7 separate regions of the Homo sapiens genome follow, and regions 2, 3, 4, 5, 6 and 7 are each linked to region 1. The links are contacts of gene promoters, found by promoter capture Hi-C in blood cells and fetal thymus (Javierre and others, 2016). All regions are on one chromosome and are shown on one strand. The core of a region is centred on a gene start or on the middle of the fragment in contact, and the rest is flanking DNA. Distances in the headings are between cores, read along the strand shown.

Evidence for each region. Contacts are between HindIII fragments. The CHiCAGO score rates a contact against its expected background, and 5 or more counts as called.
Region 2: a fragment that was not itself captured here is called in contact with the fragment with the promoter of ASAP1 in region 1 in 9 of 17 cell types (activated CD4 T cells, M0 macrophages, non-activated CD4 T cells and 6 more); the score reaches 9.8 in activated CD4 T cells.
Region 3: a fragment that was not itself captured here is called in contact with the fragment with the promoter of ASAP1 in region 1 in 9 of 17 cell types (activated CD4 T cells, naive CD4 T cells, non-activated CD4 T cells and 6 more); the score reaches 14.3 in activated CD4 T cells.
Region 4: a contact is called between a fragment that was not itself captured here and the fragment with the promoter of ASAP1 in region 1, in 2 of 17 cell types (M1 macrophages and M2 macrophages). The highest score is 6.9, in M1 macrophages.
Region 5: a fragment that was not itself captured here is called in contact with the fragment with the promoter of ASAP1 in region 1 in 2 of 17 cell types (endothelial precursors and M1 macrophages); the score reaches 8.5 in endothelial precursors.
Region 6: a contact is called between a fragment that was not itself captured here and the fragment with the promoter of ASAP1 in region 1, in 2 of 17 cell types (activated CD4 T cells and M2 macrophages). The highest score is 5.8, in activated CD4 T cells.
Region 7: a contact is called between a fragment that was not itself captured here and the fragment with the promoter of ASAP1 in region 1, in 2 of 17 cell types (activated CD4 T cells and total CD8 T cells). The highest score is 6.9, in activated CD4 T cells.

What each region holds. Positions count from the first base shown.
Region 1 is chr8:130,441,816-130,445,288 of GRCh38, forward strand. It overlaps ASAP1 (ArfGAP with SH3 domain, ankyrin repeat and PH domain 1), which reads right to left and starts at 1,859. Exons shown (of 30, transcript NM_018482.4): 1 at 1,645-1,859. RefSeq lists silencers at 1,414-1,493, 1,544-1,703, 1,714-1,803, 1,844-1,943. The HindIII fragment of the contact is 9,673 bases long and covers 700-3,473 here.
Region 2 is chr8:130,189,231-130,192,703 of GRCh38, forward strand. The region is part of intron 5 of ASAP1 (ArfGAP with SH3 domain, ankyrin repeat and PH domain 1); the gene reads right to left. Among named protein-coding and RNA genes, the nearest start is that of ASAP1-IT1, 110 kb to the right of the region's middle. The HindIII fragment of the contact is 1,344 bases long and covers 905-2,248 here.
Region 3 is chr8:130,231,308-130,234,780 of GRCh38, forward strand. All of the region lies in intron 4 of ASAP1 (ArfGAP with SH3 domain, ankyrin repeat and PH domain 1), which reads right to left. Among named protein-coding and RNA genes, the nearest start is that of ASAP1-IT1, 63 kb to the right of the region's middle. The HindIII fragment of the contact is 767 bases long and covers 1,409-2,175 here.
Region 4 is chr8:130,627,876-130,631,348 of GRCh38, forward strand. No RefSeq gene overlaps it. Among named protein-coding and RNA genes, the nearest start is that of ASAP1, 190 kb to the left of the region's middle. The HindIII fragment of the contact is 9,665 bases long and covers 1-3,473 here.
Region 5 is chr8:130,592,743-130,596,215 of GRCh38, forward strand. No RefSeq gene overlaps it. Among named protein-coding and RNA genes, the nearest start is that of ASAP1, 150 kb to the left of the region's middle. The HindIII fragment of the contact is 421 bases long and covers 1,680-2,100 here.
Region 6 is chr8:130,287,589-130,291,061 of GRCh38, forward strand. The region is part of intron 3 of ASAP1 (ArfGAP with SH3 domain, ankyrin repeat and PH domain 1); the gene reads right to left. Among named protein-coding and RNA genes, the nearest start is that of ASAP1-IT1, 7.2 kb to the right of the region's middle. The HindIII fragment of the contact is 2,496 bases long and covers 571-3,066 here.
Region 7 is chr8:130,310,615-130,314,087 of GRCh38, forward strand. The region is part of intron 3 of ASAP1 (ArfGAP with SH3 domain, ankyrin repeat and PH domain 1); the gene reads right to left. Among named protein-coding and RNA genes, the nearest start is that of ASAP1-IT1, 16 kb to the left of the region's middle. RefSeq lists an enhancer at 171-672. The HindIII fragment of the contact is 3,297 bases long and covers 250-3,473 here.

The DNA.
Region 1 (3,473 bases), core at 609-3,108:
TGAAAAACCAGCCATTCAGAGCTCTCATGAGAAAAATAGATGGGCTGCTTAGCTCACAAGAAACAGGAGGGCTGAAAATCAAGTCTAGAGAACATCAGAGGGTACATTATGTGCTAAGATACTGCCCTTTTTTGGACCTGGGAGTTTCTATTTTGCACAAAAGAATGGGATAGGGAAAGTAATTCCCCGTATAATAAGCCACTCATTTTATACTTCAAATCCATTTGGTAGCTGAATCTCCAAATCCACTTAGTGGCGTTAGGTGATTTTTGTTTTTTTTAACTCCCTATCTCAAAATATGCAGTTTGAAATAAGTGCATATCTCAAAAATAGCAGCATTAACAGGACAGAAGAGAAGGCACTAAAGTGGTGAAGGCTGTGACGCAAAGAAGACGTTTCCAAATCTGTTTCATGGCTAACAGATCAAAATCTAACACAGAAGGGGCATGGGACTGAGCCTGAAGAAGTGGAAACTACTCCTGGCCATGTGATCTTGGGCAAGTCAGGTCACCTTTCTGGGCCTTCTCTGAAGGGGGTGAATCAGTTGTTCTCAAAGATCTTTTTCTTTCCAAACTGTTCACTGGGTGTTTCCAGAAGACCCGCATTTTCTTAAAGCTATCTGGCCGCGCTACAATTGCAAAACAGAAAGGCTTTGGGATGAAGGTTGCAATACAGATAACCCTGGCCTAAAAACTGATAAGCTTTTACAATCCCAAAACATTACTCAGCAATCCAGGTCCTGATGTCATCCCAGAATCAATCACGCCAAGATAACCTAACAGAGTAGACAGGGGAAAATGCGAGAGAAAGTTCTTTTGCTTTCCTGACGAGTACAGGTAAAGTTGAGGTCAAGTTAACGATGATGGTCTGCAGTTGACCATCCTTCTCCCTGAGCTACTGGAAAACCACATTATTAAAGGAAACTGCTTTAGAAGTGCCCAAGATGAACCTCTTGGGATGTATCAAACCGCAGAAAACCGGACACCGGCAAGTTTCTTTTTTCTTTGAAACTTCATGTCGCTCTCAGAAAACGCAGCAGGTCCCAAAATGGTACAAGCAGAAAACACAAGCCACTTCACGGTCCGCCCAGGAGCCAACCCCAAGCTCCAAGTAGGACTCCCCCCACCCCCTTCCCTTTCGTTTCTCTTCTTTTGCTTTAGGCAAGTGGCCTGGGGCCTGCCAAGCAGCGCCGGGTCCGGGTAGGGGCCGGGGGCCGCGGGGAACTTTCCTCGGCTGCACCAGAGACAATGCCGGGAGGGCGCCCCATCGGCGGGGTCCGGGCCGCCAAGCACGTCGTCCCGGGCCCTCCCCCGGAGGGGGACGCGAAACCCCCCAGGGCGGGCCCCGTCCCCGGCCCCACTGCAGGGGCCCCCTCTCCCGAGCTGGAGGCGAGGAGACCTCCCCCCCCCACCGGGCGGCCTCGCCCGGCCCCGCAGAGCCTGGCCGCGCGTCCCGCACACGCCCCAGCCCAGGGCCGGCGCCCTCCCCGCGGAGAAGGACACCCCGCTGCGAGAGGAGCCGGGAGCCCGCCCCGCGCCCCGTCCCGGCGCCCTTCTTCGCGCGAGAGACTGGGCAGGGGGCGCCCGCGACTGTGGGCGACTCCGCCCGGCCCCGCCGAGCGCGCCCGAGCGCCCCGCAACTCACCGGGACCTGGCGGGCCGCTGGGCATTATTCCATCGCGGGTTCGGCCGGGCGCTCGCGGCTCTCGGGTGGGAAAGCGAACTGCGACCGGGAAGCGCCGGCTGGGCGGGAGGCGCGGGCCCGGGGCTGCCCAGCGCACAGTGCTCGCCCGCGGCAGCGGCCAGGCCAGGCGAGGCGCGGGAGCCGAGCGCGGCGCAGGAAGGGGCGGGCGACCATGTGCCGAGGGGGAGGAGGCCGCGGCGACGCGAGCGGCTCGCACGATCCCGCTCGGCGGCGGAGGGCGCGGGTTTCAGGAAATCCAAACACTTCGACAGGAAATCGGAATCCTGACTAAGCATTCCCGGCCCCGAGCCGCTCCGCGCCGGGGGCTCCCGCCTCGCTTAACCCTTGGCCCGCCGGCAGCCACGAGGGGGGCGTGGGAGGGGCCCCAGACCTCGGCCGGGGTCGGGCGTCCTTCGCCTTCCGCCCCATGCCCCGGCCGGCCGGCCTCCTCCCCGCCTGAGGTGGAAGGGGTGGGATTTATCCACAGAAAACCCTGGACGCGGAAGGTGCCTTTCTAAGGCCGGGACAGCGGCAAAGGACGTGCCTGTCTTCCATCTGCAGAGGATGGACCTGCACTGTCCTGGCCGTTACCCCTATTTTCAGTAAAGGAATGATTTCACCAGGCTGCCCCCTTTCACCACTTCCTCTCTGCTCTTATAATTTTATTTTTGCCCAGTGCCAAGGGAACAGGACCTTCCCAGTCAGGATAGTATAGGAACAGTATGGAGAGTAATTGTGTGGGCTGCAGGCTCTGTGTCCGGTTGGAATATGGCCTTTTTTCTACTCATGTTACCTTGAGTAACTCGCTCAACTTTCCTGAGCCTCAGTTTCCATTTATGAAATGGATGTTAATTCCACCCTCATAGGTTTGATCTGGAAGCTGAATGTTTAGACAGGGACTGGCACATTGGAAACGCCCAAATAAATGATAGCCATGCTTGTCCTTATTATTACCATTAAAAGACATCAGAGAAAGGAGGATTTTAATTTGTGGGATGTATATTGTGCATATCTATGTCTACTTTCAAAGTCAGAGACAGTAGTCTTTCTTTAGAACTTAATTTCCCTCCTAATCATTGGGTGATTGTTTTTCTTTGCAGCATTTCAGAAACGGCTCTCTGCAGAGGAAATGGTTAGTGGCTGTGGCAGACCCCCTTCTGGTGAAATCCGAAACAGAAAACCTCACAAAATTTGGGATTTTGCTCCTAATCTGAGAGTCTGGGTGTAGTGGGGAGTGGGGGTTGTTAAACAGTCTGGAGCGGATTTACAAAGTTTGGGAAAACCAAAATCAATCTCTGACTGGGCAGAGAGGTCGGGCAGCCAATGAGTGATTCATTGTGGTTTCCCACGGAAATGCCACATTTCGGGGGTGTCTACCTGGAGGATGCAGCTTGGTGGTTTTGCTGTAAGTGTTTCAGATTCCTTTGAAACCCAATCAGACTTTGAAGAGGGAACAACATGCTCATGAGCGAAAACAGAAGCCTGAAATGAACCTGCTGGGAACTGAAAGTTGGGTACCAGCTCGTTTACTCCAAGTAAGGAACAGATACCAGTTTTAGACCCAGCATTGTTCCTTTTCTGCAATTCTCTCTCCGTGGCCAGAAGCAGTAGGACAGCTCTGAGCTGGGCACCAGGAGTCCCAGGGTCCTGCTCCAGGCCCACTGTAGCTGCCGTCCCCTCTGCCTGGAAGAACCCTTGTATGGCTGTTCTTGGCACGCAGCTCACAGCCCAGAAGTCAGCTCCGCAGATAGGTTTTCCCCAACCATGTGATCTGCTTGTCTCTGGCACCT
Region 2 (3,473 bases), core at 327-2,826, 250 kb before region 1:
TGCTGTGCTACCTAACACTAGACTGTGTTACTTCTATCTAACTGTATTTTTGTACCTAATAACCAATCCCTCTTTATTCCCTCCTCCCCACTATCCTTCCCAGCCTCTGGTAACCATCATTCTATTCTCTATCTCTATGAGATCAATTTCCTTTTTTAGCTCCCACATGAGACAGAACATGCAATACTTATCTTTCTGTACTTGGCTTATTTCACCTAACATAATGTTGGATCCATTTTGTGGCAAGTGGCATGACTTTGTTTTTTATGGCTGAATAATATTCCATTGTGTATATATACTGTATTTTCTTTATCTACTCAACTGTTGATGGACACTTAGGTTGATTCCGTATCTTGGCTACTGTGAATAGTGCTCCGATGAACATGAGAGTACGGGTTATCTTGTTGATACACTGATTTCTTTTCTTTTAGGTATATACCCAGCACTGGGATTCCTGGATCTTATGGTAGTTCTCTTTTTAGTTTTCTGAGGAGCCTCTATACCATTCTCCATAGTGGTTGTACTAATTTATATTACCACCAACAGCGTATGAGAGTTCCCCTTTCTCTGCATCCTTGCTAGCATCCATTACTGTTTTTTTTATAAAAGCCATTTTAGCTGGCTTGAGATGATATTTCACTGAAGTTTTGATTCGCATTCCTCTGATGATTAGTGATGTTGAGCATTTTTTAATAAACCTGTGGGCCATTTGTAGGTCTTCTTTTGAGAAATATATATTCAGATCTTTTGCCCAGTTTAAAACTGGATTTTTTTCCTATGAGTTATTTGAGATCCTTATATATTCTGGTTATTAGTCCCTTGTCAGATGGGTAATTTGCAAATATTTTCTCCTATTCTGTGGGTTGTCTCTTCACTTTGTTGATTGTTTCCTTTGTGGTGCAGAAGCTTTTTAACTTCATATGATCCCACTTGCGTTTGCTCATTTTTGCTTTGGTTGTCTGTGCTTTTGAGGTCTTTCTCAAGACATCTTTGCTGAGAGCAATGTGCTGGAGAGTTTCCCCCAAAGTTTTCTTCTGGTAGGTTCACAGTTTCAGGTCTTAGATTTAAGTCTTTAATCCATTTGGATTTGATTTTTGTATATGGTGAGAGATAGGGTCTAGTTTTATTCTTCTAAATATGGATATCCAATTTTCCCAGCACCATTTATTGAAGAGGATATTCTTTCCCCAATGTATGTTCTTGGTGCCTTTGTCAAAAATAAGTTGACTGTGAGCATGTGAATTTATCTCTGGGTTCTCTATTTGGTTCCACTGATTTATGCATTTATTTTTATTTTTATTTTTTGAGACAGAGTCTCACTCTGTCGCCCAGGCTGGAGTGCAGTGGCATGATCTCTGCTCACTGCAATCTCCACCTCTTAGGTTCAAGCGATTCTCCTGTCTCAGCCTCCTGAATAGCTGGGATCACAGGCATGCATCACTACGTCCGGCCAATTCTTGTATTTTTAGTAGAGATGGGGTTTCACCATATTAGTCATGCTGGTCTCAAACTCCTGACCTTGTGATCCACCCTCCTTGGCCTCCCAAAGTGCTGGGATTACAGACGTGAGCCACCGCACCTGGCCTATGCATCTGTTTTTATGCCAGCATCATGCTGGTTTGATTACTACAGCTTAGTAGTATAATTTGAAGTCAGGTAATGTGATGCCTCCAGCTTGTGTATTCTGTCTCCCTCACTAGTACATAACCTCGATGGGGACAGGGACTTTGACTTTTCTGTTCACAGCTATATCCTTAATGCCTAGATTCCATTAAAAAGATGAGATATTTAGGAAGTGCAATCTATAACCGGGAAATAGTTTTTTTTTTTTTTTCCACTGCTCTGCGGCAGTGGCCTGAGTCTCCTTGATTTTAAGATGGCACAAAGAGGAATCTACAAAGGAGAAGGAAATGGAGATGGAGATGCTACCCAGCTGCAGAGAAGAATGGCAGGAGGGAACCAAGGGAGGCAGAGTCAGGTGTGAAAGGAGTAACCAAAACAAGGACTGAGAAGAGTTTTTACCTACTTGTCTTCAAGGAGACCCCAAGTAATCTTGGTAAAATCAAGTTTTAGTAGGTGTGGAACCCAAGACTGCAGAGACCTGCAGGAGCAGATTATAGATGGAAAGGTTTGTGGGTCCCCTCACTCAAGAAATGATTTTACTCACACATAAGTGTATTCAACTGTCAGCCTGTCCATCCATCCATCATTAATAAGATATCTACTCTGTGCCACACACTACACTAGAAGCTTGATAGGCAAAGATGAATAAACACTGTTCCTACCTGTGGAGAGCTCATATTCTAGGAACAGAGGCAGTCACTACACAGCCAACTCTACTACATTATGCTATTATGTATTATGTGTTAGTGGCAGAGGGAGAGAGTGGTGTGAGAAGGACCAACGCTGACTTGAAAGGGCTTTGTGCATGACCCTCTTAACCACATCTGTAAAGTAGAATATTATAACCTACTGCAAGCAGCTGTTGTGAGGATGGAATGAATTAATATGTGTAAAAAGTGCTAGCTTACTCCCTGATACCTAGGAAGTGTTGAATACATGTTTATATTTTAAATGCTATGGCATGCTAAATATGGATAAGATAATGAGGGAGCAGAGAGGGGCGGGGAACAGGTTTTCCCCTTTTTGCTCTTAACTTCTTCCTAACCCTTTCCTGTTGTTTTCATCTTAGGCTTCTTGAAATTCTCAGTCATTCTACCTCTTTACTCTCCCTGAACAACAACTAATTTTACACACCGGAAGGTTTCCCAATGTGTGTCACCAGAGGGCTTCTCTGGTGACACACATCTAAGAAACAATCACTTCTTTCTTATTTCAAAGACAAAGGGATTTCTACCAAGACAATTCTGTCTGTGATTTTGCCAACAATCACACACCAACAGACTGGCTGGCATACCAGAGAGCTATAGTCTGAGAGTCTACATTCTGTGAGGCTCTAAGACACTGGTTCTTGGGGAGTGGGGCAAAAAATAAAAAACCAAAAAATCTTAGCTGTTATAACTGTCTGTGGCCCTCCAAAGGGCCACAGTATATAACTGATATCAACTATGTCTATTAGCTGTATTAAAATTTCACGGGGGGGAGCGATGGGGGACTATGTCTAAAAAGGCTCTTGGGGAAAAGGAGGAAGGCTTTGGATCATAATGAGGAAAAAAAAGGTTGAGCAACACTAACTGGGTCTGAGACTGAAAATATGAAGATTAATAGGACTCACCCTCTATTCTACACAGATAGCTGAAATAATTTGCTCTGAGTCCTCAATTTCATTCTTGGAGTACAATTCCCTAGCATCCTCCTATCCTATGGGCCTTAGAAGTTTGGATGGATGGTGGGTAAGTAAGGTTGGGGGGCCTGACCTGCCTTCACTAGCCAAGCCATTGCCTACTTTTCCTCTGTTCACGGAGATCCTTGCCTTATTTTTCTTCAAAGCACTTACCATCCCTACCCATTTG
Region 3 (3,473 bases), core at 542-3,041, 210 kb before region 1:
AAACTGTTTATAACAATTTAGCTGTGTTTTGAAAATATGACTTCCACATCATATGCTGGTAATAAAATTATATACCACTGTCATTTTTTTCCTGCCCAGAAATATTAAAGGATTTACAAGCCTCAACTTTCAGACCAACAATGTTATAGATTCTAAGGGGCACCATGTGTTACCAATAAGCTAACATTTATTCTGAATATATCCTGGCATAAATTCTAAGGAACCAGCCATATAATAATATGTTCATTTAATTTGAGCAAAGAAAAAAAAAGCCAACACTTTAACACAGAAAAAGACCTAGTAGCAGGAATATCCTGAGTTCCTAGTCCCAGAAAGAAGTGTATACCTGTACCTGTGTTGTGTGAGAATGTATCTGCTCAAAAAGATTAACATTTTCAACCTAATTCATTTGGTAGAATAGCCAACTCAGTATACCCACGCTTATTATGAACCACATGCTTCCATTTCTAAAAGTGCAGTATGTCTCACTGTGTTTTTTAAACAATACTGAGAAGCAAGCAGTAAGCTCTTTTCTCAAGCCACACCTGACTTACGTGCATTCACATGCCCATGCTTCCAAGGGAAAGCCAGCCCCACTCCTACTGTACTGACCCAGGGTCTCTCACAAAGATCAAGATCAAGATGTCTGCCAGGGCTGCAGTCACCTGAAAGTTTGACTGGGGTTAGATTTGCTTCTACGTCTCACTTGCATGGCTAGTAAGTGAGTGGTAGTTCTCCATAGGACTGCTTGAGTATCCTCAATATGGTAGCTGGCTTCCTCCAAAGAAAATGATCAGAAAAAGAACAGAAGGACGAGGTTGAAGCTATCTTGTCTATGGACTGGCCTTGGAAATCACATGGCATCACCTCTACTACATTCTATTCATTAGAAGGGAGTTAGTAACTCTGGTGTACATTCAAGGGGAAAGGGGATTAGGCTCTATCTTTCTAAAGAAAATTGCCCAAGAATTACAATAAATTAAAACCTCCACAGTGCCCAAGAAACTACTAGTCATTTTAATCATATATTAGCAAAAGGGCGAAGGAGGGAGAAAATGGGAAAGGGAGAGGGACCACTAAGGCAGACTTCCTTAACGACAATGTGTTTCACAGATTAATAATGTTAAAACTTCAAAACTTAGAGAACAACACAGGAAAACTGAATGGCTTGGAGAATTTTCCATTGGTCTAAGTAGTTCACAGAATTGAGTTTTGTGTTGTTTTTTAAAATGTCCTCATACACAACAAGGAAAAGTGAGACACAAATTCCTAGAACAATCTTGAAACCAAAGGGCTTGCATGGAGACAATTTGTTTAAAAAAAAAAAACCAAAAAACCCTCATTTTTATAATGTTTACTAGTACTGATAAAAGTTTATGTGTAAAAATAATACATTTTAAGAGTAAGAAGCTTCACAATGTTTAGCCATTTTTCAAATCACTTTGGGAAGCTGAGTGATTGGTAATCTCCAACCAGAAATATAGAAATCCTTTTTAAATGTTTAAAAAATATCACATGGGTTTTGTATCACTTAAGCATTGTGAGAAAACAAGAAAATTATGAAAATGCATTGGGAAACAGATAGCAGGGTTCAGCTTCTTGTGGTTTCTCTGGATGAGGCCAAAAGCCCTTGGAGGGGAACAGCTTGGATTCCACTGAGCATGTATCATGGAAAGCTATGCAACACCACTGTTTTACTCATTTAGTCATTTTTAAAGAATTAAATGTCATAGTGCTGCCCACAAACCCAGCTATACTATACTTGTTCGTGACTGCAGAAACCCTATCAGGCCTCAATAGTCTGTGAGGAACCCAGAGGGATCTGAGTTTGTCCCTATATTTCTGAGACATGACCATGGAAACTACTATTGGTGGTCTCATCTGGGAAACACCAAAGTCATCCCACAGGTTACAATGCTGGGATTTTCCATTTGATGGATCCATTCATGAATATTCATGATTAGTGAATATTAATAGCTGGTCTCAGAGAGCTTCCCAGGTAGTAACACATCCAGCCAACATGTAGCGATTCACTCAACCCTTGTTGAGCCCCTACCATGTGTTAGGTAGAAGACAAATACAGAGTACCTGTAAAGAGCAAAGCTGGGGTCAGCTGGGCTCTCTTTCCATTATTTGCTAGGTATGGTACCCTGAACAAGTTATTCTGTCTCTCTAAGCTTCAGTTTCATCATCTATAAAATGAGAACAATGGTACTTACCTTATTGGCTTGTTTGGCTTAGCCTAGTACAGTATAAATACAAAATGAATATCATTTCCTCCAAGTGGTACTCCCTTAGCACCTTCCTCACGCTACCTCAGATCCTTCTTCCTATTTCACCCTTTGCACTTTGTAAGCTTTCTTTTATAGCGCTTCCTAGTTTCTAGTTATAAATACTTCCCAGTTTGATGATCTGATTAACATTTATCTCTCCCCTACTGGATTGTAAAATTCATGAAGGCAGAGACTTTGATGTGCCAAACACCTAACACCCAGAACAGGAGAATATAATAGGTGCTCAATAAATATCTTTTCAAACAAACAAATTACATTGACAAATGCATAAACTACAAAAACGAAAAACATAGTACTAGTCTTATCAAAAAACTCATAGGCCAGTGCAACAGTTCTTAATTTTGGCTGCAAGTTAGAATCAGCTGGGGAATAATATTTTTTTAATCTCAATAGCTAGGCTCTACTCTGGAACAATTCGAGGGTAAGGGTCTGAGAGATTCCTGTTTTTGTTTTTAAGAGTTCTTCAGGTGATCCTAATCAACAAAGGTAAGAATCATTATCTACTCCAAGAGAGATGGTTAGTAATTGCAATACAATGGGATACATGTTCTCCTACAGTATCAGTCTAACAGGACTTCCTGTGATGATGGAGAAGTTTCTATTTCTGCACTATCCAATATGGCACCCACTAGTCATATACGGCTGTTAAGTTCTTGAAATGTGGCTAAAACTGAGGAACTGAATTTTAAATTTTATTTTAATTCATTTAAAATTTAAAACCATATCTCACCAGAGGCTACTCTAATAGTACAAACCTAGGAGGAGGGCACACAGAACCCCTAATCCAGACTGGAGAGATTCAATGTTCAATAAGCTGTACCACCCCCATCCACAAAGAGGGTGCAGTCTACTGGAGGAGGCTGCACCCAAACTCTGCATACAGCCCTTGAACTCTCACCTCTTTACATCCATACAGGAACAATCTCTCCCTTCTGTCATACCCATGGCAGCTGTGATCAAGGAAATCCTTTAAAGAACAGGAAGAAGCATATCCCCCAGTAGAGGAGCCTTTGTATGAGCTGCTGAGTGATGTGGTCATTGTGGCCAAGGGATGAAATGCATCTTGAGGGGGAACATTTGGAAAAGAGTCACATGGAGGGAGCCCTCAGCACGGTAAATACAGCAGCACCTCGTGGCTGTAAAGCAAGGGTCTCCCTTTTGCAGCTCACAAGCATAGAG
Region 4 (3,473 bases), core at 439-2,938, 190 kb after region 1:
AGATCCCATAATTTCCACGTGTTGTGGGAGAGACCTGGTGGGAGATAATTGAATCGTGGGAGTGGTTCCCCCATACTGTTCTTGTGGTTGTGAATAAGTCTCATGAGATCGGATGGTTTTATAAGGGGAAACCCCTTTTGCTTGGCTCTCATTCTCTCTTGTCTGCTGCCATGTAAGACATCCCTTGCTCTTCTGCCATGATTGTGAGGCCCCCCCAGCCACGTGGAACTGTGTGTCCATTAAGCCTCTTTTCCTTTCCTTTTCTTTCTTTTTTTTTTTTTCTTGAGACAGGGTCTCGCTCTGTTACCCATGCTGGAGTGTAGTGGTGTGATCTTGGCTCACTGCAACCTCTGTCTCCTGGGTTCAAGCAATTCTTCTACTTCAGCCTCCCGAGTAGCTGGGATTATAGGAGCCCACCACCACGCCCAGCTAATTTTTGCATTTTAAGTAGAGATGGGGTTTCACCACATTGGCAAGGCTGGTCTTGAACTCCTGACCTCAGGCAATCTGCCCGCCTTGGCCTCCCAAAGTGCTGGGATTACAGGCATGAGCCACCACACCCAGACGCCTCTTTTTCTTTATAAATTACCCAGTCTTGCGTATGTCTTTGTGAGCTGCGTGAAAACAGAGTAATACACTGAGCTTTTGCTTGGGTTCCTTCTCTTCCTTTACCACATTTCCAACTCTCTATTTGTTTTCCTTGGAAATTATTCCTAATAAATTACTTCACATGCATTTTTTTTTCAGTCAGAATCGGCTTCTGAGGAATCCAATCTATGAAAACACTTTACAAAACAATTAGAAACCTGGTCCCCCCCGAAACTGATTGTTATTTCTCTACCAAGAGCATTAAACCAAGTGGGCCTTCAGTAGACCTTATAAGATTTGTACGACTGACCTGGCACATCTATAAATGCTGCTAAAGTTATTGGGAATACTCTTTTCTGTCTTCACCTTCCACTGTCATGTTCTCAGATTCATCTTTCCTGACCATCACGTCTAAAATAGGCTCCAATTTCTTCTTTATTCTCCACTTTGACATTTTGTGAGTTTCCTTCAGGGTACTTGTTAGTTGTCCGTATTTGGCATGTGTATTTGTTTCTTCCTTTGATTTTGCCTATCTTCACCACTGAACTCTAAGTCTCATTTGGTCAGGGACCTGTCTTATTTCCTGCTGTGTAACCTGTACCCTACCCAGTGCTCAGTGACAGTTCATTGAATGAATGGAAAACACCTGTGACTCACCCACCCCCACCACATTCTGTCCTCTAAGACTGACCTTTGCTGAGGTTGCAGATGTGGTTTTGCATGTCCAGAACCTATAAGAGATTCATACAGGTTTGACAGACAGAAATTTCAGAAAATCCACCTGGCACAAATAAGGAAAATAGATGAAGCACATGTATTTATGGGGATTGTTTAGCCTGAGACACACCATCCTGCAAACAGATTGTGCTTGACAAGTCTTCATGAAAGGTGTGGGAGCTCTGAAGTCAAAGTGTTGTGGGTATTGATTTGATTCTTGGAAAACGTAAACCTTCTTTTCCCCTTGAGCCCTTCTGCATGACTGTGCTGGTGTCTATAAATCTGATTGTCCTGAGGCAACAATTAGGCCAGAAGGGAGAGTTTTTTGTGTGTTGTACATTAACCTTTCGGGGCAGTTAAGACTTCTTCAAAGTAGTGAAGACAAGATGAGTTCTGAAATATTCAACTTATTAGAGGAGATAGAGTAGAATTTTTCAAAGGAGGTCCCACTGAATACAATTACCACACTATGTTATTAGCCTTCCACAGAAACAAAAGTGTATGTGGGTGGCAAAATATATTTGGAAATATTCTTTAATATGTTAATATATTCTGGGTGTGGCCATGAAACTTACGTGACCATAGAATTTTTTTTGGACTATCACATGGGAAATACTGTAGTAGAGACTGTCTGAAACTGCTATTTCATCATTGGTCTTCATGTCTCTGTGTCCCCATGCTTCTGACTTAAAGCAAATCCTCATCTTCTTCCAGGCAGAATATATCAAAGGCCCCCTCCACCATTCTCTGCTTTGCATCTTATATTCTTTCCAAAGTCAGAGCATCTGTCAGTCTGTAAACAGTCTGTCAACTTTCTCAACTATTGCTTCATAACAAATAATCGCAAAATTTAATGGCTTAAAACAGCAACAATCATTTATTTAGCTCATGCATCTACAATTTGGACAGGGCTTAGCAGGGAAGGTTCATCTCTATTTCAGGCAGCTTCCACTAGGGCTGCTAGACTGAGACTGGAGGATCCACTTCCAAGATGGTGCATTCATGTAGCTGGCATTTGGAGCTGGCCGGTGGCTGAGATCTCAGCTGGGGCTGTCAGTTGGAAAAGCTGTACATGCATGGCCTCTTCATATGGTTTCTTGGCTTCTTCTCAGCATGCTAAATGGGTACCAAGTGTGAGTATTTCAAAGATACAGGGAGTGGACTGGGCTTTGGAACAACTCAGTTTTACTTCCATGGTATTCTGATGCTCAAGCAGCCACAGAACTCAGATTTCAGGGCAGATGACATAAACTCCACTTCTCACAGATAGAAAGTGTGACAAAGAATTTTGGCGCCATGTTTTAAAATGGCTATAGCAGCTCTGTGAATCTCTTCTTAACGTTTCTTCTGCCTATAGTGTTCCTTCATTCCCACCCCCACTTTGTCACCTGGAAAACTAGATTCTCCAAGGCCTAGATCCAAGATCACTTCCTCTAAAAATATTGTTGTCTGTGTTTTGTTAGCATGTTGTTTTTATTGCTAGTCTCACATCAAATTAACATATCATTTTAATGTTGGTTGTCTTCTTAGAGGGCAGTATGACATCTTATTCATCCATTATTCCAGTTCCTAGCACAAGGCTTGTACTGAATTAATTAATTGACTAATTTTTCAGACCAGCTGTTATAGCAACTACTGTTTCATAAATATTTACTATTTAATAGACCCTGAAATATATGCTTTATAAATATTACCATATTAAATCTTCACAAATAGGAAGCTATTATTACTCCCATTACACAAAGAAGAAAACTAAGATCATAGTATATTTTCTAATGCTGTATAGTCTCTAAATGGCAGAACTAGAATTCAAACCCAAATCTAAAGTCCATGTTCACAAAAACCTAAAGTCCATGTTCATAACCAATATGTTCTTATTTGAATAGCAAATTAGTTAAAACAGCCAGTTATATTTATCCAACATTGAAATAACCAAACAACTCTCTCAAATAATTGATCTGTAGACTTACTGCAGTGTATTATTAGTAGGCCTAATTTTATCGAATTCCTGCAAACCATCATCCATTGTTCTAAAAGATCCAACTATTTGAAGCACTATTACATGGAAAGAAGTGTTGGACTTGGTGTGGCTGTAGATGGCAAAATTAGAAGTAATAAGAAATTAGAAGGAAGAAGCAGATCCTGGTTCAACATAGGGGGCATTTTCT
Region 5 (3,473 bases), core at 640-3,139, 150 kb after region 1:
CCTCCAGCCTTACCTAAGCCTGCTATTCCCTCTTATACTCAATTCCAGCTGCATTGACCTTCCACATTTCTTCAAGGACTACACAGTCTCTCCTCTCCAGACCACTCCTGGGACCTTCTGCTCCCTCCCTGACCAACGCTGCTCCAACTAAGTCCTAACCTCTCCATTCCTGGTGCCTCAAAATTACTCAAGTGCTGCTTCCTTGGTGAGTCCCCATGCTGTAGGATTCTCCCATGGGAGTGCTTAACATATTTCATTTTATACGTACATCTGCCTTCAAAACAATACGCTGTGTGGGACACAGCCACAGGTTATACCTGTTAGGTATACCTTTGCATTTCTACCGTCTTCCATGCTGCCAAAGATACAGAATGTGTAATGAAATAGATGATATGGTTTGGCTGTTTCCCCATCCAGATCTCTTCTTGAACTGTAGCTCCCATAATCCCTACATGCTGTGGGAGGGACCTGGTGGGAGGTAATTGAATCATGTGTGTGGATTTTTCCCCTGTGCTATTCTTGTGATAGTGAGTAAGTCCCAGGAGATCTGATGATTTTATAAAGGGCAGTTGCCCTGCACATGTTCTCTTGCCTGCTGCCATGTAAGACGTGCCTTAGCAACTTCTACACCTTCCATGATTGTGAAATCTCCCTAGCCACGTGGAACTGTGATTCCCTTAAACCTCTTTTTCTTTATAAATTACCCAGTCTTGGATATGTCCTTATAGCAACGTGAGAATGGACTAATACAATGAATATTTGCCAAGTAAATGTTTCTCCCACTGGGATGTGAGCTTCTTGGGATCCTGGATTTCCTAGAAATGCCTAGCCCTTCTCCCATTGCATGGGTGCCTAATGAAGTGCTCAGTGAATATTTTTTGCAGCTTTGAACAGAAATAGATTTGGGTGCATGAGAACCAGTTTTCCATGTCTGCCCCTTAACTCTGTGATTTTGGGCAAGTCCCCTTCTGTCCTGGAATTCAACATTCTCACCGGTACACTATGATGGCAACGACTCTGCAGAGTAGATACAAATGAGAGTCAGCTCCCCCGTGACTCTCCTCTGTGCCAGAGAGTGTCCCGTGTGTTGCAGGATTTTTATCTGATTAAAAACAATTCATTTGAGCAGATGTAATTTCCCCCTTTTACAGAGATTCTGAGAAGAACAACTTGCCCAAAATCACACAGAGAGAAAAGGATTGAGCCAGGATTTCAAATCATCTTACCTGAGTCCATAGTTTATGCTCTTTTCACTATCCTCCTGTCCTGCCTCTATGGAAGGATAAGATGATCTGAGATTATCTATCTATCTGTCTGTTTGTCTGTCTGTCTATCTATCTATCTATCTATCTATCTATCAATCATCTATATCTATCATCTATCTCTATCATCTATCTCTATCTATTTATCTATCTATCTATCTATCTATCTATCTATCTATCTATCTATCATCTATCTGTCTACCATCTATCTAGCTATTCTGTTCTATCTACCTACTGACTTACCTATCTATGCCAGCATAGTGCCTGACACATGGCAGATATGCAATAATTGTTCATTAGAGATGGTTTAAGTCTCATCTTGCTTGGAAGTAGGTTCTGAACAAGGCAGTCCTGCTGAATCCCATATAGTCCTGGGATCCCAATAGGTGGAAGCAAGAGGAGGTGAAGGTCATGGCAAGCTTGTTTCCTCTCAGCCCATTATGCTGCTCTTGTAATGTCATTTGCAAATTCCTGTAAGCACAAAGTAGCCACTTGGGGCAAATGCACCAAGGAGAAGGGTTATGTGCCTTTCCTCATGGCTAAACTTGACAATCATGGAGTCTCTCTTAGTCTCACAGAGGAGGAGAAGCACATTCACTGCTCACTTGCTCACTCATTTCCATAGTTATGGAATAGTTAATAATCACCACCATTTACAGAGAGCCGACTCTGTGTTAAGGGCTATGCTGAAGCTATCTTCACAACAGTCCTTCCATAGGCTGCAGCTACAGCAACAGAGACAGAGCTAGAGAGAGCTTCTTGGCTGGTAATTAGGAAACTAAACACAGAGAACTTTAATAACTGACTTGCTTAAAGTCACCTAGCTTGTTAGTGGTGAAGCTTAGATTTGGTCCTGGTTCTGTCTGCTTCAAAGCCATTTCACTTCACTATGAATATAGCATTAGATAGCACAGTCACTCATTGCCAAAAGATGTTGGGGAGTGGGGACATCAAAGACAGTCCTTTTCTTGCTGCCCAGAAAGCAGTGCCTTTCCCTTAAAGAAAAGGAAACTCACTAGACTCTCTGACCAAGTTTAGGGTGTAAAATTGAGGTGCTGACGAAAAGCCCATGGATCAATTAGAAGACCGCTAACAGTCTCTCTCTCTCTCTCTCTTTTTTTTTTTTTTTTTTTTTTTTTGGAGACACAGTCTTGCTCTGTCTCCTAGACTGGAGTGTGGTGGTGTGATCTCGGCTCACTGCAACCTCTGCCTCCAGGGTTCAAGTGATTCTGCTGCCCCTGCCTCAGCCTCCCGAGTAGCTGGGATTACAAGCATGCACCCTCATGCCTGGCTATTTTTTTTTTTTTTTGTAGAGGCGGGGTTTTGTCATATTGGCCAGGCTGGTCTCGAACTCCTGGCCTGAAGTAATCCACCCACCTTGGCCTCCCAAAGTACACGTGTGAGCCACTGCATCCAGCCTCTCAGAGTCTCTTTTAACCCTTGTATTTTCCTTGTCATTTCCCTATAAGAGTATAGTGGTGGAAAGAGTTTTGATCTAGAGTCAAAGCTTGGGGTTTGATTCTCAGCCATGCTGTCACAGGCCGTGTGGCTCTGGCTGGGTAGGAAATGTCATTGCTCTGAGCCTTGGTCTCCTCCTTGTCATAGGGATTAAATGAGGTAATTGATGAGAAGAACTTGGGCCTCACTGAATTGTCAATAATTGGTAGAAATCAGGTCACACAATCTATGCATGGGATTTTGGCATCAGCTGTTATAGACAGAGTTGTTTTTTGGGCTTTTTCCTACATCTAATTTCTTCCGTAAAAGAAAACCACAAGCAAAACACAAGCACAGAGGCAAAATAGGCTTCAACTCTCCCTACAGAAATGTTTCTGAGGGTTATTAGCTCAGCCATTTTCCATCAGCAAAAATAAATCGCTCAGAAACATCTGGGCCACATTTGTCAGGAATCTGCTCTGTGCCGGCATTTCATTTTCAAACCCAGAGGACATTTTGGACCTACTGCCATGCCCTTGAGAAAACAGAAGGGTTCCAGAGCCCACCAGGGCTCCCACTTCCCTATCTCTCTTTTTCATTTCTGAAAAGCTCAGAGGCAGCGGCAGCCAAACAACGTTTGGGTGGGATGGTGAAGAAAATCCCCTTCTGGCTGTAGACAACTCCCTTTCTGCCAGCTCTCAGGCCTGTGCACCTGGGCCCGAGCCCTGAGGGTGAGGATTTGGGGTGGTGGTGGGAGCTAGAGACTCATGGTGC
Region 6 (3,473 bases), core at 569-3,068, 150 kb before region 1:
AAGCCTAACAGCCAAGGAAGGCGAGTTCTGTGGGCAAATGCCTCAAACCCTCTGCATTTGAATTTCTCCTCTGCAAAATGCGTAAGCCCTATCTCACAAGTTTGGGTGCAAACTATCAGACACAGATTATGTCAAAGGCCATAATTACATATTTAATAGAACATTATTATAGCAACTATTTGTGCCCTTTAACATAGGGAACGCTCAGAGGGCTGTGTTTGGGTTTTGTCACCTCTATACCCCTAGCCCTTCCCACTCAGTCTAGCATATAGCAGAGACCCTGGGAAGGTTTGGTAAACTGACTTAACATTTCAAACACATACCCTCTTGCCCTGTTAGGTCCCTACCCCAGCCTATCTCTTCCCCAGGCTTGTCCTTTCTAGTCACCTCCACGCACAGTCAACCAAGCACCCATGCAGGGTGAGGCCATCCCAAAGCGCTTTCAAACTGTGCTCTAGTCCGACTCCTGCATCCATGCTGCGTGGAACTCTTCTCCCCTGGCAGGAGCTCCAGCTACACGCATCAAGCAATCAGTGCTAGGTGCTCCTGCTAATTAATGCAAATATGGGAAGCTTATCTCCTCAGCCATGCTGGAAGCTGCTTGAGGCTTTTCATCTGTGGCTTTTTTCTGATAAAGCTGAGGCTTTTAATCTATTTCTAACCTTTCTGGTTCCAGTATTTGACTTCGAGGGCACCATTCCTCAATTTGGGTCCCCAGAACTCACTCCTTAGGGTAATTCCATTCTTTTACAAGAGCTGATATTAAAAAAAAAAAAAATTCCTTGTTGAAACAACTGTTAATAAAGAGGATATCTTTGAGAATATAAACCTCCCTGCAAATGCTTATCAGGACATGTTTTATTTGGAGGCGCAGTGTCCTACCTGCAGCTGTGCATTTACAGAGCACTGCCAGCTCTTACACATTAACTCTAAGAGGGAAAAGGGCATTCAGAAGTCTGGACTGCATATCCATTAAACAAATGTGTTAATCACCTTCAAGACCCTAAGCAGGGCAGTGTAGAGGACCCAGAGACAAATGTGAAGGAGACTCTGTCCTCCAAGAATTTAAAATGTACTAGGCAAGGGCACTATGGGAAGAAGATGGCATCTGTACTATGGTAAAACCACTGTGGAAGCACAGGTAATCTGCCCCAGTAATCTGGTCAATGCAAGATGTTCACAGCAGCATTACTTATAGAAGGAAAGAAGGGAGGGAAGGACAAATAACAATGTCCAATGATGGGAGATGGTTAAGCAAATTATGATAAATTCACAGAATGAAACTGTGTATAACCATTAAAAATTATACTTACCAAGGCTGGGCGCGGTGGCTCATGCTTGTAATCCCAGCACTTTGGGAGGCCAAGGCAGGTGGATCACGAGGTCGGGAGACCGAGACCACCCTGGCTAACACAGTGAAACCTTGTCTCTACTAAAAATACAAAAAATTAGCTGGGCGTGGTGGCACACGCCTGTAGTCCCAGGTACTCGGGAAGCTGAGGCAGGAGAATCACTTGAACCCGGGAGGCATAGGTTGCAGTGAGCCAAGTTGGTGCCACGGCACTCCAGCCTGGGCGACAGAGCAAGACTCCATCTCAAAACAAAAAACAAAAACAAACAAAAAAAAAAACTATACTTACCAAGACTATGTAAATAACATGGGAAAATGGGTATGTTATAATGAATAAGAAGGCGTCAGACTAACACTATTAAACAAAAACATGCACAGAAAAAGCATCAGTGTGTTCACAGTAAGAATGTGGCCATTTTTTCCTTCTTCCTATGTTTTGTATTTTCCAAAGTATGTGTGTTACTTTTACATGAGAATATTCTTTAAAATTTATTTTTAAACAGCGTATTCAAAGGGCACAAGAATATCATATATTCAAATTTTAGAGAATACCCCAAATCCTTAGGGAGGCAGCTACCTTGCAGACTGGTCCAAACTTTAAGAATGGAAAAGACTGGGGAGGCGAAGACTGGAAGGCTTCATACTTTAAAATGATGGCCCTAAGTCAGCTGTTTATAACTTAGCACATACCATTCTCGAAGAAAGGATGTTATAAAGAGTGGTTATATTCCCAGGGTAGCCCATACAGCCAGGTAAACTCTCAAATCACCTGAAGTATCTTACTTGTATCCACAATCCTTTAGCTGGGGCTGGCTGTTTTAGAATTCATACTTTTGTAGATTTCAGAAAGAAATTACAGTATACTTATTGTTTATTATACAACATACCCCACAGGGACTAGTGTAGAACTCCATTATCAGATTCTGGTAACACAGTTTTTAAATATCCAGTACGTTTCTAGTTTAGCTTCTAAAAGCCTCATGAAACAAAATTTCATGTCAAAACTCTTAACATTTGGAATTCAGAACAGCAAATAACAGTGGACCTATAATTGCACGTACCCCATTGTACATGGTCATTTATCTAAGCGCTCTTCCTGGTACTCGACAGTTGGCAACGGCCCGAGAGGTGTCATATTCATCTTTGTATCTCCAATACTAGCACAGCAATAGCAACATAAAAGGGTGGTCCATAAATATCTGCAGAATGAATAAATGAAATATAATACTGAATCTATTTGCCAGCCACTTCATACTCCTCACAGCCCTCTGCACTTCTCTTAAGGCTCGCATATTCTACTTTGGATTAGATGTCATATAACTGTGCTACTCCGCCTCCTCACATTCCTTCCAACTTTAAGTCCTTCAAGGGCAGGGATGGTTCAGGTGAAACAGCAAGGCCTACAACAGTAGCCCATATTCCCTCACATGAAATGTTCAGAACTCGTTAAGCAAAGACACCAGATTCTAACTTGGGATGCCCAGAATACTTTCTCTAACCCTTACCTAGAGATCCAAGATTCCTCTTTTCTAACTGTAGGATCCAAACCTTCCTGGAAAGAGGAGTGACCCTGAACCAGGGCTATTATGGTGCCTGAGTCTAGCCTAGTCGACATGGGGATGTGTGCCTGATTTCATAAAGAACCCCTTAAATCCTTCCAGCCTTCCCTCATTCCAGTGGTGGTCATTCTTCTCAGGCTGCAGTCACATTTATAAAGCTTTTCAAAATGCCAAACCACCTCTACCAATTGCAAATCACTTGCTGAACTTTATCTGTGGACTATTTCCTTGCAGATGCTCTGAGGCATGACAAATCCTTAACAGGATAATGATGATACTCCTCCTTCCTCTCCTCATGCCTGGTACTACAGGATCAATTTTAGTACCGTATCACACAGACTTTCCCCTCCTTGCTTTGATATGCTTTAAAGCCACTGAGATGTGGCTTGGGTTAAAGGGAGTAAGGATTTTAAGGGTTCATGCATTCAATGTGCCATTCCAATGAAGACCTTCACAAGTAGGAGCTACTCCTCTTCTAAAACCAAATAATGCTTTACAGGCTAAGGAACAGAAAAGACGAGTTGCCAAGTTATACCATTTCAGGAATCCAGTTATCTTGACTT
Region 7 (3,473 bases), core at 648-3,147, 130 kb before region 1:
TATCAGCAATCTAGTTAAAAATGGGTCACACTATTTATAGAGTCAATCACCAAATCACATATTCTCTAGTTAAAAAAAAAAAAAGTCTGAAAACTTTATTGAGCAAGCATGTTAAACAGTACTACTTCATGCCCACCAAAGGAAATAGTCTTTAAATTCTGCCCAAACTTGACAGAAAATTTTCTGAATGGGCTCAATGCAGGAACAATTCCATTTCCCTATATATTTGAGCTTTACTATAAATAAACAAGCTTAACATGATGCCAACATAATGTTTAAGTTACACTTTGAGAACCCACTGTACAAGTTTGGGACTCAAGACCAACCTGGGCCAGTATCTACTAAGGCGGCAGTGTTTCTCTGATGAAGCTCCTCTTTAGCTCTATTGTGAAGGAGGCTTTATTTGTTAGGCTCAGCAAGGGCTCCCACAGTGGGGAGGACAGCCATTCTATGAGAACGCAGTCCAGGGCAGGTTGTCAGAAATGTGTGCAAAAGGAACAAATTGCAGGCCTGGAAAATGAAGCACATTTGCTGTTCTGACTACAAGTGACAAGTGCAATGCACCAAAATGCCATCTGTAGTTATCTGAGTGGTGGAATCATGGGTCATTTTAAAATTCTCTTCTCTGTATTTTGCTCAATTTTCAAGTTTTCCCCAATGGCCATATTTTATAAAACTAAGAAAAGGTATCCAAATAGGTGGTAATTTTGAAAAGTAGAGAAATTTACGTCTAAAATAACAATAGCCTATGCTGTCTCATAGAGACAATCTCTACTGGCATTGTATTCTATCTTTTCCTAGTCTTTTTTCAGTGCACATGCATCTTTTTCACTCGTTAAGCCAGTACTTAAAAAGGGCAAAATAGGGTCCAGTGTGGTGGCTCACGCCTGTAATCCCAGCACTTTGGGAGGCCAAGGCGGGAGGATCACCTGAGGTTGGAAGTTCGAGACAAGCCTGACCAGCATGGAGAAACCCTGTCTCTACTAAAAATACAAAATTAGCTGGGCATGGTGGCACATGCCTGTAATCCCAGCTACTCGGGAGGCTGAGGCAAGAGAATCGCTTGAACCCGGGAGGCGGAGGTTGCAGTGAACCGAGATCGCGCCACTGCACTCCAGCCTGGGCAACAAGAGCGAAACTCCGTCTCAAAAAAAAAAAAAAGGCAAAATAAGTGATATAGGTTACTTATAATTATAGAAAGCAAAGATTTTAGGCTAAATAATAATAGTATGTCAAGCTAGATGGTTAAAAATCTACTTTTAAGTAAACAAAAACAACTCAAAAAAAAATAGTAATTTGAATACGATCCATAATGATTTATTAATTGTACTCCTTCTAAATGAGAAGATCCGAATTCAGCCTAGAACATGTAGGTGCAAATATACTCTTGTTCACCTCATTAAATTCTAAATGAACACCAACCACTGTAAATATGTGGATCACTTGAGCCCAGGAGTTCAAAACCAGCCTGGATAACATAGCAAGACCCAGTCTCTCCAAAAAAAATACAAAAATTAGCTGGGTGTGGTGGTGTGCTCCTGTAGTCTCATCTATCAAGAAACTGAGGTGGGAGAATCACTTGAGCCTGGGAGGTCGACGCTGTAGTGAGCTGTGATCACGCCACTGCCCTCCAGCCTGGGTGACAGAGTAGGACCCTGTCTTTAAAAAAAAAAAAAAAAAGTACCATGCCTAAAAGAGCTGGCTACCATCCACCATCCCTGCAGCTGAACCCCTGGCCTTGAGCACTGATGGCACCTTTGAAAGGGAGCTTGAACACAAACCAGACGAGAGCTAAATCTAACACACTTAAGCAAAATACAATATCACTAAAAGGAGGGGAAAAAAAACCCATTAGGAATTCTGGTTTTAAAAAAAATACTGCAACCCGTAGCAACTCCAGGGGGCCTTCTCTCCCTTTTGATAGTGAATGTCCTCTGCATTAGGGACATTTCCAGGCCCAAGGCATACACAGGCATTATCTCACTGAACCAACCATTACAGGTGGGTACTATTATAATTTCTATTTATAGGTAAGGAAAACAAGGCTAAAGGAAATTAAATCAAGATAGCACAACTTTTATGTTCCAATGTGGGGATCTGAACTGATCTTTCTGATTCTAAAGCCCATGTTCAACCACTGTAGTAACAAAGCCTAGCACAGAAATTTTCCCCCCTAGAAATAGTTGCTTAGCTTGTTCTACCATTTAGTCATACCCTAGCATTCTGGATTTGGTTTTGCCAATGTGATTTTCAACCAAACAAGATGAGGGAATAAGCACGTGAGAAAGACATCAAATGAAGGCCAAAAGGTGTCCCCTCATCTACAACTGATCCAATGACAGCAGAGTGACAGCTCATTAAATTAAAAAATGACTTGGCAAATGAAAGCAATCATAGCATGCACATACCTGTTCATGAAAGAACACAAGTGAACTGTTGGGTTTTTAATACTTTAGGTTTTCATGGAAGAATCATAAGTACATTTTCACATAACCAAGTGCTTATGTTCTCCTAGTTTAGTTTCTGAGAACAAATGGAAGGAGGTGGTGGATGGGCTGAACAATGGGGCAAATGAAATATACTGATAAGCAAAAATCCCTAAAGCCTGCAGATAATTTCTAAGCAATTCTGGTGGGTCCCTAAAATAAAACATATCCTCTGCCTTCAACAAAATAAAATAACATAACCGTTTAAAAAAAAAAAAAACTTTTAAAAGGTCCACTTCTTTTCCTCATCTTTGCAGCTCTCACTCTCAATGAGATCACGTATAAATTGAGTCCTCCTTCCAAATCTCTTACCTTAGAAAGGAAACTGCTATTTTGCTGTGCAATAATAGGTCAGAGAAGAAAACTGTTTTAAATAATGCCTTCATGCAAATTTACTGTAGGGTTATCTGCCGAGTAACAGACTACCCTTGTGGGATTCTCAAATTACAGTTATATTGCCCAACTAGGGGAGCTGCAGTTTGAAAATGAGAAACTTCTTTTGGCAGTGGAACACATAATCAACGTCCTCACAGAAAAGCAGACGTTTCAGCTACAGAAAATAAAAAATAAAATTAAATTAACTTCACTGCCTAAAACCATCAGCCCCAGGATATTCAAAAATCTTATGAATTTTTATCTCAGACATGATCCACATTCTGCATGAACTAAAAAACTCATGACTTTATACTATCAGTTCTGATATTTTAACAGTCTTTACTGGGGGAAAGGGAATGAATCCCCCAGTGTAAAGCAGCAGCCTGTCTGCAGTCAATGCCACTGCACTCGACACCACGTCCCATGCTCTTCTCCTCTCCCCACTTCAGCTCAGCCCTGCAGACTGCTGGCTTCCCTCACACACAATTTGCTGCAGTCCACCCCTAGGCTGGCAAGCAGCCCACCAATCACTCAGTGTGACAGGAAGTCAATCTGAATATAGAAGTACTGCATGTAAATGGACATTATAAATGAAAGTCTAGAATGCGTCAC